Linked DNA regions of Homo sapiens: region 2 is linked to region 1. The links are contacts of gene promoters, found by promoter capture Hi-C in blood cells and fetal thymus (Javierre and others, 2016). All regions are on one chromosome and are shown on one strand. The core of a region is centred on a gene start or on the middle of the fragment in contact, and the rest is flanking DNA. Distances in the headings are between cores, read along the strand shown. Region 1 holds the start of RASAL2-AS1 (RASAL2 antisense RNA 1). Region 2 overlaps RASAL2 (RAS protein activator like 2).

Evidence for each region. The method cuts DNA at HindIII sites, captures the fragments that hold promoters and counts their contacts. A CHiCAGO score of 5 or more calls a contact.
Region 2: a contact is called between a fragment that was not itself captured here and the fragment with the promoter of RASAL2-AS1 in region 1, in 1 of 17 cell types (M0 macrophages). The highest score is 5.4, in M0 macrophages.

Annotation. Positions count from the first base shown.
Region 1 is chr1:178,091,852-178,098,219 of GRCh38, reverse strand. RASAL2-AS1 (RASAL2 antisense RNA 1) reads left to right here and starts at 4,227. Exons shown (of 2, transcript NR_027982.1): 1 at 4,227-4,659; 2 at 4,808-6,368. It overlaps RASAL2 (RAS protein activator like 2), which reads right to left and starts at 4,116. Exons shown (of 18, transcript NM_170692.4): 1 at 3,526-4,116. The coding sequence starts at 3,727. RefSeq lists silencers at 3,678-3,737, 3,888-4,047, 4,118-4,417, 4,468-4,517 and an enhancer at 4,139-4,640. The HindIII fragment of the contact is 4,675 bases long and covers 1,051-5,725 here.
Region 2 is chr1:178,352,359-178,358,885 of GRCh38, reverse strand. All of the region lies in intron 3 of RASAL2 (RAS protein activator like 2), which reads right to left. Among named protein-coding and RNA genes, the nearest start is that of CLEC20A, 140 kb to the left of the region's middle. The HindIII fragment of the contact is 2,394 bases long and covers 1,708-4,101 here.

The DNA of each region.
Region 1 (6,368 bases), core at 2,978-5,477:
TATGAGCAAGGTACCAATCTGGCAGACAAGTTGACAATGAAGGGGGTGGCAAGATAAGAATACAAAGATAAACAAGGCTCCCTGATATCAAAAATTTTATAGTCTTGACAAGGCATGGGCACAACTTATAATACTGGAATAAAACAAATGAAACATTTTACAACTACAAGGAAATGAAGATTAGGACAGACAGCACAAATATTTTTCTCTCAGCCACATCTCAAAAATGTGCATTAGTTTGTGTTCTAAATATAGAGCCACCTATTATAAAGCTCTGAACATATTCCAGAAAAGTTTTCCAAATCATGGCAATACACAAAACCCTGAGTATACGTATTATGACAATATATACATATGTACACAATATATATGTATTATCAACCAAGGAGCCAAACCTGTCAACAAGAAACTCAAAACAGTGCCTAGTCTTCAAATTTTGTGAGGCAAACTAATAAAATATTGTTTCTAGAAGTTCCTGTTAAGATATTCTTTGGGGGGTTACTTCTGTTGTTGTTTGTTCCCATCATGATTTCAAACAGAAGTATATTGCAGGAGATGCAAATTGCACTTAATAAAGTTCCTTATTATTATCCTACCTTTAGAACCCACATGGCTATGTAGGTTAGGTCTCAAAACTGGATGAACTAGACCTAAGCAACATCGCCATACTCATCTTCCTATCTTGTGAAAACATTCCAAATAAATAAACATCTGCCTTCAATATATCTTCTTTGAAAACTCAGTTCACTGACCTTTTGATAAAACTGCTCCCCAGAATTCCCTGACAATCATGATTTAAATGCATTAAGTTAAGGGCTTGGTTAATGCCTGGCCCCAAGAGCCAGGATAAAGATTATAGGCCAACCTGCAGGTAAAATAATGGGCCAAGCCACAGAATCAGACAACTTTAAAGCTAAAAGGGACCACAGATACCAATTACTCCAGATTCCACTTTTATGCTGAAACCTAGAGGCCATGAGTTAAAACTACCTGCCCAGAATTAGACAACCAACTTGTGGCAAAGCCAGAATGAAACCAATACTCTAAGCTTCTAGTTGTATCCTCTAGACTAGGTTCCCAATTTGTAGATTTCCCTGAAACATGTTAGACTACACTCATCAAAGTCTCTTTAAATTGTGAGAAGAACCTAGGTGATCCAAGACAACGAAGGTTTTGAACACACAGACAAGAAACAAGAAAAACAAAAATTCTGTATTCTCCAAATTGTTTTTCTACATTCTATTACTTTTATTTCAAAGTTTTTACTTCAAAGTTTTCAAACATACACCCTGTTCATACAATAGGCAACTTAAAACTAGCTAAGGACATAGCCAAGAGTCATTCCAATAGTTCTGAAATATTTACATAAACTAAAGACAACAAAATAGTATCCAGGATGAGCTGCCTCAGAGGAAGGAAAGTAGCAATACTAAACAATAAATAAAAACAACTTCTGGTTAATTGATAGAGAAAACAAAAAAAGTTACAATGCAGTGGTAAGTCTGCAATTGGTCACAAAAATGCAAGGCATGGTATGTATATGTGTGTGTCACACACATATACATACCATGCATTTCTGTGATGTCTGATATGAAGTCTTGACATCAATTGAACCACGCAGAAAGAAAACTTCTAAGTCGTGGTCACTCTTGAACAATAAACATATATCCTGTTCAGAAGGACGAAAGAAAAAAAACATAATGTAAACTTGCTCTCACTCTCTCTCTCTCTTACACACACACACACACACACACAAAATATACAATATATATTTCACAAATCAACCCCTAGGAATGGACTACAAAACAACATACATTTGTAGACTTTTATGTCCTTACAAATGAAGAACGATAGTTAACACTAGGTCCAGAGAACCCAGATTGTTTTGGATACTGAAATACCGAATTATCATATACATGTATTCTTAGAATAGCATGGCCCTATTTCTAACATCACACAAATAAACAGTATGCCAAAGAAGTGTGTAAGGAGAGAAAGATGATAGAATGGGAAAACGTTGTAACTACAATATACTCTAATTCATATGCACTTTCAGATTCTCACCAACCTTTGTTCTAAATGACCAGCTAAGTGGGATTTAGCAGGCAGACGGAAAATCAGGCACCAAAGTTTTTAATCTAATTTGCTGAGAACAAACTGGGTGACCTTGCATCGTCTCCCACTCCTTTGCTTTAAATCTTCCGGTACGTAGAGTAACATCAAGAAACAGCCAGCAAAATACAAAGTGGTACACAAATCCTTAAGAACTGGTTATAAGAAGAATTCCTGGATTTTTATGATTAAAAGGGTCACTAGTGATGATTTAATCCAATCCACTCACTTTACAGATGAGGAATCACAAGCCAAAAATGTGACTCGATCTGCCCCAAATCCCATAGCCATTTAGTGGTAGAACTGAGACAAGAACTGAGATCTCTGGACTCCTAGTTCTATGATCTTTGCGATGGACATTAAGTCTTCAAATCAACTGAACTACACAGAAAAAAACCTAAGTCTTGGTCACTCTTGAATAGTAAGCATATACCCTGTTCAGAAAGATGAAAGAAAAAAACATAAGGTACTTGATCACTACAGGCTTAGATGCACAAGACTGCAGGATAACATCTTAACATTGTGTTTGATCCCAGGTGCTTCAAATTTGCCATCTTATACTCAGCCACGTTACTAATGTCTTCTGCAGTCACGTGAGCTAGGCGATAAACATCTTGCCGTTTCAATATTTTGGAAAGCCACAGCTCAGTCCTGAATGCCAGGCTATAAATCCTTAAGCTATGAGTTTTCAAAACCAGCATGGTTTTAGTGCTGCCACAAGGCTCACCCTAATAGAATCTCATCATTCAGTTTTAATTAAAGAGGTGGTTACCAGGAATGCAGAAAGGGAAAGTTTTAGTGTGTTCATCACTTTTAACCTGCTGAGTGGCAACCCAGTCACTTTACAACGAGATTCAGAAACAATAGTGTAATCTGAAACAATCCACACCCGTTGGAATAAGTGGTTGCTTTTAGAGAGAGTGAGGTTCAGGCAGAGGTTATAGATTAGTCTTGCTCCCACCAAATACATAGTTTGCATTTTTTTCATTCATTAGCTTATCCTCTGCTTTTTCATAATATCTTGGTTTCCAGTCTTGCCTCATTCAACAATAAAAAGAGACGAAAATCCATTCACTTGGTTTCATGGAGTTTTTCCATCATACCTTCTTGAAGATTGATTGCCTGGCTGTTCCCTTGAAGTAATCGCCTAAGAATTACGTCTTGGATAGCCCAACTCCCGCATTAAACTTACTGCAGGTGTCTGAAGAGGTCCAAAGACCATACTGAGTGACATCCCTGCCCAAGTGATAGTCTGAAGAAACTTGTCAGAAATGCACCCCCAGAACAAAAAGGGATGTGGGAAACTGACCTAGCACGGATGAGGACTGGGAATGAGCCTGTGACTTAGGGAATGAATTTCAGCCCAAGCAAAAATAGGAAACACCAGCCTCTAAGACGGCCTGTGGTCCTTACCGTACACCCGGACCCAGCTCTGTTGCTGGCACACGGACTCCAGAAGGATCCGATCCAACATGCCACCGGCGACGGCTCCACTGACTGGGACAACCGCGTCCAGGTCCTCCGGGGGCAGCGGCGAGTCGGACTCCAGCGCCGGGAACATCTCCGGCCAGGACAGCGCCTCCGCGGCTCCTCCGGACGACGGAGAGAGCTCCATGGTGCCCCGAGGCGGGAGGGGGACGAGGCGGCGGCTTCGGGGCGGGCTGGCGCGCGGCTCCGCGCCCTGCCTGCGGTAAGGGGAGGAGGAGAGCGCGCAGCGAGGGCAGGGACCCGAGCGGCAGCCGGCGCGGACACCTCTCACCTCCTTCCCCGTCGCCCACTGCCCGAGGCTCGGGCGATGCAGCCCACCTGCAGTCGGCGGGCGGGACCCAGGCCGGGAGGAGGATCCAGCGTGGCCCCGACCAAGGGTGGGTCCGGGCTCAGGTGTGTGTGGGTCCCTCCCGGGAGAGGACGCAGAAGAACCCGGGAGGGGAGGCTCGCCCTCCCACCTCCTCGGAGCCGCCTTCTTCAGCCCCGCCGGCGTCTCTCGCGGTCAGACCAGGCTCTGGCTGGGGATGGAGCGGGGCCGGGCAGGGCTGGGCTTGGGGGCGTCGCCGCCAGGGGCCGCCCCCTCTGACCGGCTCCCGCCGCCGCCGCCTCAGAAGCTCCGAGTGCCCGTTCCCTCAGCCTGAGGAGGGGTAGGGGGCGGTGGCCCCGGGTTCTAGCCCGCCTGTCCTCGGCCCCCACTTCTGGAATGAGCCTGCCCGCCCCCTGACTCTCAGGCCACAGCTCCGGCCACAGCTCTGGCTCCTGCTCCGCGGCGGATCCCACAAACCCGGCAGCCACGGCGGTGGCGGTGGCGGTGGCGGTGGCGGTGGCGGCGGCGGCGGCGGCGGCAGCGGCAGGCGGCATCCCAGGGTGATAGGCTGAAGCAATCGAGGGCCGAGAGCCCGGCCGCGTGTGCACTCGAGTAACGAAGCCGGGGAGGGACTGCGCCGCAGGCAGGAAAAGTCGGACACCGAATTATTCATCCGGCCTGTCCCGCCTACTTTCCAAGTACCCTCCCAGGGATAGCCGGGTATTGAGCGGTCCGGGTCTCTGCTGCTCAAAGTAAAGACCGTTTGAGAAGGCGGGGAGGTAAAAGGGTGCGGGAAATTTAAACAGAAAAGAAAGGAGCTTCCCTTCCTTCTCACACCTTTCCTATTTATTTGTTTCTTTCTTTCTTTATGGGCCAACGTTTCTTTCTTATTGGACAAAGAGATCGAAGAAGCTGCTTTATCTTACAGTCACCCAAGGGGGAGCGCCTTCTTCCTTCCCAGAGTGGAGTGGCAGTGGGTCCGGGATTCTGGGATATGCACAGGGTCTGCGCCCTGCGCCCTGTCCGCGCTGAAGCTGAACTTGTCATTGGTTTGCAACAGCATGGTGAAGAAGTGTGGTGTGGATGGACGGACGGGCCTCTCAGGCACATGAAATACTCAAAGCCCAGTATTAACCAAACATGTTTCTCTGTTTTGTCTTTGATCTTTGTGCAGTGTGTTGGCTTTTTTCCTTTAATGATGTCACTTGTATTTTATTTTTGGTTTATTTGTAGACTGTCTCCCTCCTTGGCCATGGCTTTACTTTTATGTCCACCCAAGGAGAGTTTCACCAGTTTAGGTTTAAGAAATTACTGACAAGTTAACAATAATAATTTCAAAATTGAACAGTAATAACTTAAACCGTGCCTTGGACATAGTAGATCTCCAACAGTTTTTCTTGAATGTGGCTACCTAATGTGGAACAAGATTTTTCATAATTACATGTTGCTATTTTTAATACCTTTTGGGAGGTTCTTTAGTCCCCCCCGCCCTTTCTCCCTACGTTGCACAAAGAGACTGGTCTACAAGGGGTCCTGTTAGTTTTCTGGTTTTGTGGGGTCCTGGAATATTGTTTGGGCTTATTGAGAGTTAACAAGGATGTATTTTGTGAGTTTCTCCAAAGTCTTATTTAGAGTAATAGTATTTCAAAGCAAGAAGTGTTTTAGAGAGAACATCATTCTGCCTCTTGTTTAACAGGTGAGGAAACTGAGGAAAAACCAGCTTACCTGGCTAATCAACCACAAGTACAGATAGTTCCACAATGACTCAATGGATATTACTTCAACTTTGTTCCCTCAAGAAACTTTTGTGATTAAGCTTGTTGATTTGTGGCTTGATGGTTTACAGGAATGGTCATTTTTAATATCTAGGACCCTGCTTGCTTGCTTGCTTGCTTGCTTACTAGACTGGCTGCATAGTCAGTCTTCCACGTGTAAACAACAGTGTGTGCTTTAGTGGATAAGAGATGTTGAGTGCTGAGATTTCAAGGCTCAGCACTGAGTAGACCTAGAGCATTTTTATTTATACTAAATTAATGCCATGGTAACATAAGTTAGACAGCAAGTGAATATGGCATCAAATGTACAAAGTTGAGTATCTCTTTACTAGTCAATGTATAAGGAATTTATTTACCCAAGCAATTATCTTAAAAACAGCATTACAAGTGGTATGCGAAACATTTCCAGAATTTATTTCCACATCTGCTCTTTCAGTGGCATCATCCATTCCTGAGCTCAAGAAAAGGCCTCTGCCAACCGCCAGTAATCCTGCTTTTTTAGTAATCCTACTATTTTTTTTTTAACTTTAAGTTCTGGGATACATGTGCAGAACATGCAGGTTTGTTACATAGGTATACATGTGCCTATGTATACCTATGTAACATGGTGGTTACAGTAAACATGGTGGTTTACTGCATCTATCAACCCGTCATCTAGGTTTTAAGCCCTGCATTCATTAGATATT
Region 2 (6,527 bases), core at 1,655-4,154, 260 kb before region 1:
TATATTGTATTTCCTTTGTTAAGAGTTTTGCTATTGGTGTCAGTGCTGCTGTGAACATCCTTGCAAATGTCTTCTTTTATCCTTTGTAGGAATTCCTCTTTGGTATATACATAGGAATAGAATCTCTGGGCTTAGGGTATATAAATGTTCAACTTCAGCAATGCCAAACTTTTTCCCACCAGCAGGATATATGAAATCCTGAGTCATCTACATTCTGCTCAATATTAATACTTGGTATTGTCAGAATTTTTAGTGTTTCTCATGGAATGAAGATAAGATGGTTGATTTTGCATATCCTGACTACCAGTAATACCGAACATTTTTCATAAGTCTATGGGTATATATGTTATGCTTTTGTGAAAGTCTTCTTTATATCTCTTGCCCACTTTTCTATTGAGTTGGTCATGCTCAGCCTATTAATAGATAGCAGTTCTTTGTATGTCCTTGATAGTAATCCTGTGAAAAATTGTGGGTCTTGTGAATATCATTTCTCAGTTTCTAACTGGTCTTTTTACCTTCTTTACTTAAAGTCTATAGATGGACAGAAGTTTATAATTTTAATATAATGGCCAACCCCACCAGTCTTTTATAGTCAATACTTCTTGTTTGTTTCCTTTCCTTTTTTTTTTTTTTTTTTTTTTTTTTTTTAGGAGACAGAGTCTCACTCTGTCACGGAGGCTGGAGAACAGTGGCGCCTTCTCGGCTTACTGCAACCTCCGCCTCCCAGGTTCAAGCAATTCTTGTGCCTTGGTCTCCTGAGTAGCTGGAATTACAGGCACATGCCACCACGCCTGGCTAATTTTCTTATTTTTAGTAGAGACTGGGTTTTGCCACATTGGCCAGGCTGGTCTTGAACTCCTGACCTCCAGTGATCCGCCTTCCTTAGCTTCCCAAAGTGCTGGGATTACAGGTGTGAGGCACCACACCTGGCCTTGTTTTTTGTTTAAAAAATATACTTCAATAAGAGACTGAACTTGAATACCAACCCCAACCACAACTCTTAATCTAAATTTGTTGTTATATTCAAACAATGTAAAAATTATACAGTAGTCAAATAAACTATAGCAAAAATATGGAGAGATATGAGTAATATAATATTTACATGGAAAAAGTTCAAAAGAATATATAAAACATGCTCTTTATATAAAGTTAAAAATGACTAAAATTTAAAAATGTGTATGAAAGTAAATTATCTCCCAAATAATCTATACATTCATTGTAATTCCAACTGAAATGTCAACACATGTTTTTTGTTTTTTGTTTTTGGCTGAGAGTACAGAGGGACTTGATACTACCATTCATTTGGAAAAGTAAGTACATGAATAAAAGGCCAAATACCTTTTGAAAGGAAAAACTAATTAGAATTCCCTATATCAGTAAGAGAAAAACATTAAAATCTATAATCATTAAAATACTGTGACATTGATATAGAAATAGATCAGTAGAGTAGAAAAAGACATATAGACATTTAGCTGATGATAAAGGGTAGCTTTTACATCACTGTGCAAAGAACTGACCATTCGAAAAAAAAAAAAGCACTGAAACAACTAGCTATATGGCTGAAAAAAAATCTCATTTCACATAACCAAAAATAAATTCCGGATAAAGACATAAACTGAAGTTGAAAAAGGCTTTCTAAGCATGACACAAAAGCGAGAAATTACAATGGAAAAGAGAGACAGATTGAACAATAAAAAATTAAAAGCTTCAAATAGCAAAAGACAGGCTGAACAAATTTGCAAGGCTATTTAACAGCATCTATCAAAATATGAAATGCAAATTATCTTTTGATTCTATTTCTGGAAACCAATCCTACAGAAATACCAGCACAAGCAAATGAACACAGATATATGTACAAAGATGCTTAACTCAAAGTTGGCAACTGCAAAAAACAAAAACACTCCAACTATTCAAAAGGAGGGGAACAGATAAATCTACAATGGAATAAGATGCAGCCTTTAAGGATAACAAGTATAGATATGATGAAATAAAAATGTCTTCAATATATGCCTTTATTTTATTGTGAAATATGATGCCCCACAGAGAATAGCATAAAACATAAATGTAGAGTTTAATGAATTATAATACCGCCATAGCAAGAATTAGAACATTGTCTGCAACAAATGATTCCCCAAATACTCCATCCTGATCCCAATTCCTTTCACCCTATAGATAACCACTATACCTATTTCCGGGGTAAACATTCCTTGCTTTTATTTAGTTTTAGCACTGAAATGTGCATATCTCAACATGTTTTCTTTTTCCTTTTCTTGAATTTTATATAAATAGTATAAGAAGATATACTTTTTAGTTTGATTTACTAAATATTATATTTTAAAGATTTATTAATGTTGCTGTGTGTCACTGTAGTTTGTTCATTTTACTACATGATGATGTCACTTTTTTAAAACTCATTTTACTGATTTTTTTCCAGGTTGTATCCATTTTGGGGCCATTATGGATGCTTGTTTATTCTTGTACATGCATCCTCATGTACATAAGCATGTATTTATGTTGGGTTAGCATTACTTTCAATTTTATTAGATAATGCTAAAGTGTTCTCCAATGAAACTGTACAAGTTTTTACTCCCACTAGCAATGTAGGAGTTCCCATTGCTCTATATGCTTGACAACTTTAGTATCATCTGATTTTAAATCTTAGCCAATCTGGAGATTATGTGGGGGTATCTTGTGGGTTTTTTTTTTTTTTTTTTTGAGACAGAGTCTTGCTCTGTTACCCAGGCTGGAGGAGTGCAGTGGCACAATCTCGGCTCACTGCAGCCTCTGCCTCCCGGGTTCAAGCGATTCTCTGCCTCAGCCTCCCAGGTAGCTGGGATTACAGGTGCCCGCCACCATCCCGGCTAATTTTTTGTATTTTCAGTAGAGATGGGGTTTCGCCATCCTGGCCAGGCTGATCTTGAACTCCTGACCTCGTAATCCACCTGCCTCGGCCTCCCAAAGTGCTGGGATTACAGGCGTGAGCCACCGCGCCTGGCCCCATTGTTGTGGTTTTAACTTGGGATTCCTTGATAAGGCTGAGCACCTCTTTAAATGTATACAGCCATTTGGTTATATTCTTTTGTGAAGTGCCTATTAAGTCTCTGCCCATTTTTCTATTGGGCTTTGTCTTTCTCAATTTGTCGGGATGCTTGAAATATTCTGGTATAATTTCTTTGTTGGTTTATATAGCTTGACTTTTTGCACTTTCAGTAGTGTCTTTTGACAAACAGAAGTTATTAATATTAATAAACATTATCACCTTTTTCTTCTTTATAATTGGTGCTTTTTCTATTTGATTTAATAATTACTTCTTTATCCTCAGGTCATGAAGATGCTATAATATATTCTAAAAGTGGTATTATTACTATTTGGTGTTTTACACGTAGGTCTACAATTTAGATGGAATTCATTTTTATGTAAATTGTTAAGAAATAATCCACTTCCACTTTATTTTTCCATATGGATCTCCAGATGAGCCAGGATCATTTATTGAAAAGATCTTAATTTCCCCACCACTCTGCAGTGTCAATTTTATCATAAGTAAAATGTACATATATGCACAGGTCTGTTTTTGGACTCTTTATTCTGTTCCATTGGTCTATTTCTAACACTAATACCACTTTGTCTCAATTAATATAGTTTTATAAAGAGCCTTAATAGCTGACAGAGCAAGTCCTCCTAAATTAGGTTTCTAAAAGAGTTTTTGGCTATCCTAATATATACAAATATATAGATACCTAGAAAGAAAGAGAGAAAGACAGACAGACAGGGTCTTGCTCTGTCACCCAGGCTGGAGTGCAGGGGTGTGATCACAGCTCGCTGCAATCTAGAATTCCTGGCTCAAGTGATCCTCCCTGCTTCAGTCTCCCAAGTAGCTGGGACCACAGGCATGTGCCACCACGCCCAGCTAATTTTCAAATTTTTTGTAGAGATGGGGCTTATCATGTTGCCCAGGCTTCACAAGATTTTTAAAACTGGAATTACATTGAATCTATAAAGGAATTTAGGGTAAAAGTTAACACCATACAAACCAGTTTTCCAACTCCAGAAACGTAGTATATATCTACTTTAGATTATTCTTAAATTTCTCCTAATAAAGCTTTATAGTTTACTTTTTAGATGTTTTACACATCTTTTAAAAGATTTACTCCTAGGTTATTACATTTTGTTATTGTAAACAGTATCTCAAAAAATTTGCTTTCAGTTTATTGTTGATCTATGGAAATGCAATTAGGTTTTGTTTATGGATCTTGTTATCTAGCAACTTGCTAAACTCAATGCCTGTAAAGTTTTTACTGGATTTTCTAAATGATCACATCACTTGTGAAGTTTTAATTTTCTAATCCTTACATATTTTCTTGTATTGATTGAGACCTTACTGTATTGATTACTGTATTGATTGAGACCTCCAATACAATGTGGAATAGCAAGGATAATAATGGACATCCCAGCCTTGGTCCTCATCTAAAAGGGAAAGCTTTTCACCATTACATATATTTGTCGATGGGTTTTTGTAGATATCACTAATCAGAGTAAAGAAATTCTTTTCTATTGTTGTTTTGCTAAGAGTTCTTATGAATAGTTGTTAAATTTTATTAAATGTCATTTTTGCTCAATCGAGATGATTTTAAGATTTTTCTCCTTTAGTTCATTAATGGTAAACTATTCTAACTTTCTAATATTAAATCTACTTTGCATTTTGTGTTATAAACCCAACTTTAGTCATAATGTATTATTCCATTTGCTAATATTTTTTTTAGGATTTCTGGAACTATAATAATGAGTAAAACTCCCTGTAATTGTCCTTTCATGATGTGTCATTGCTAGGTGGTATAAAAGTAGCTGATGTGTGTAGTCTCTTTTACTGAAAAAAATTTGTAATTTGAAAATGTATCTTCCTTCTTCTTTTTTTTTTGGACAGGGTTTCATTTTTGTCACCCAAGCTGGAGTGCAGTGGCACAATCTTGGCTCACCCTGTAGCCTTGACCTCCTGGGCTCCAGTGATCCACCCACCTCAGCCTCCTGAGCAGCTGGGACTACAGGCATGAGCCACCACACCCTTGTATAATTCTCTACCCTCAGGGGCCTGGAATCTGTAATATGATGGGATAGCCACTCCACTGATTAGGTTACATTACATGGCCAAGGTGACGTATAGTCACTATCATGATTACAGTTGTGTTATACTGGATTACATCATAGCCAAAAAATTAGTACTGAAGAGTTGGGCACTGCTATAAAGATACCTTAAAATATGTAAGAAGCTTTGGAATTTGGTAACTGGTAGAAGCTGGAAGAGTGTGGAGGGTTGAGAAGAAGACAGGAAGATGAGGGAAAATTTGGAACTCCCTAGAGACTGGTTAAATGGTTGTGACCAAAATACTGATAGTGATATAAACAGTGAAGTCCAGGCTGAAGAGGTCTCAGATGGAGATGAGGAACTTATTGGGTACTGGAGCAAAGGTCACTTTTGTTATGCATTAGCAAAGAACCTGGTGGCCTTCTGCCCCTGTCCTAGGGATCTACGGAATTTTGAACTTGAGCGTGATGATTTAGTATATCTGGCAGAAGAAATCTCTAAGCATCAAAGTAATCAAGATGTAGCCTGGCTGCTTCTAACAACCTATGCTCATACGCATGAGCAAAGACATGACGTAAAACTGGAACTTATATTTAAAGGGGAAATGGACAGTAAAAGCTTGAAAAATTTGCAGCCTGGCCATGTGGTAGAAGAGAAGAGCCCATTTTCAGGGGAGGAATTCAAGCAGGTTGCAGAAATTTGCATAAGTAAAAAGGTGCCAAGTACTGATAGCCAAGACACTAGGGAAAAGGCCTTGCAGGCATTTCTGAGACCTTGGCAGCAGCCCCTCCCATCACAGGCCTGTAAGCCCAAGAAAACAAAATGGTTCTGTGGGCCAGGCCCAGGGTCTGCTGCCCCATGCAGCCTCAGGACACTGCTCTCTGTGTCCCAGCTGTCTAACTCCAGCCATGGCTCAAAGGGACCCAGGTACAGCTTAGGCTGCTGCTTCAGACAGTACAAGCTGAAAGCCTTAAATACATGGTGTTAAGCCTGTGGGTACACAGAGTGCAAGAGCTGAGGCTTGGGAGCCTCTGCCTAGATTTCAGAGAATGTACGGAAAAGCCTGGATGTCCAGACAGAAGCCTAATGCAGGGCCAGAGCCCTCATGGAGAACCTCTACTAGGGCAATGCAGAGGACAAATGTGGGGTTGGAGCCACCACAAATAATCCCCACTGGGGCACTACCTAGTGGAGCTGTAAGAAGAGGGCCACCATCCTACAGACTCTAGAATGGTAGAGCCACCAAGAGCTTGCACCCTGCACCTGGAAAAACTGCCAGCACTCAATAACAGCCCAAGAGAACAGCACATGGGCTGACCTCTGAAAGGCCCACAGGAATGGATTGCCCAAGGCCTTGGGAGCCCACCTCTCACATCAGTGTGTCCTGGATGTAGGAAATGGAGTCAAAGGAGATTATTTTGGAGCCTTAAGATTTAATTCTTCTCCT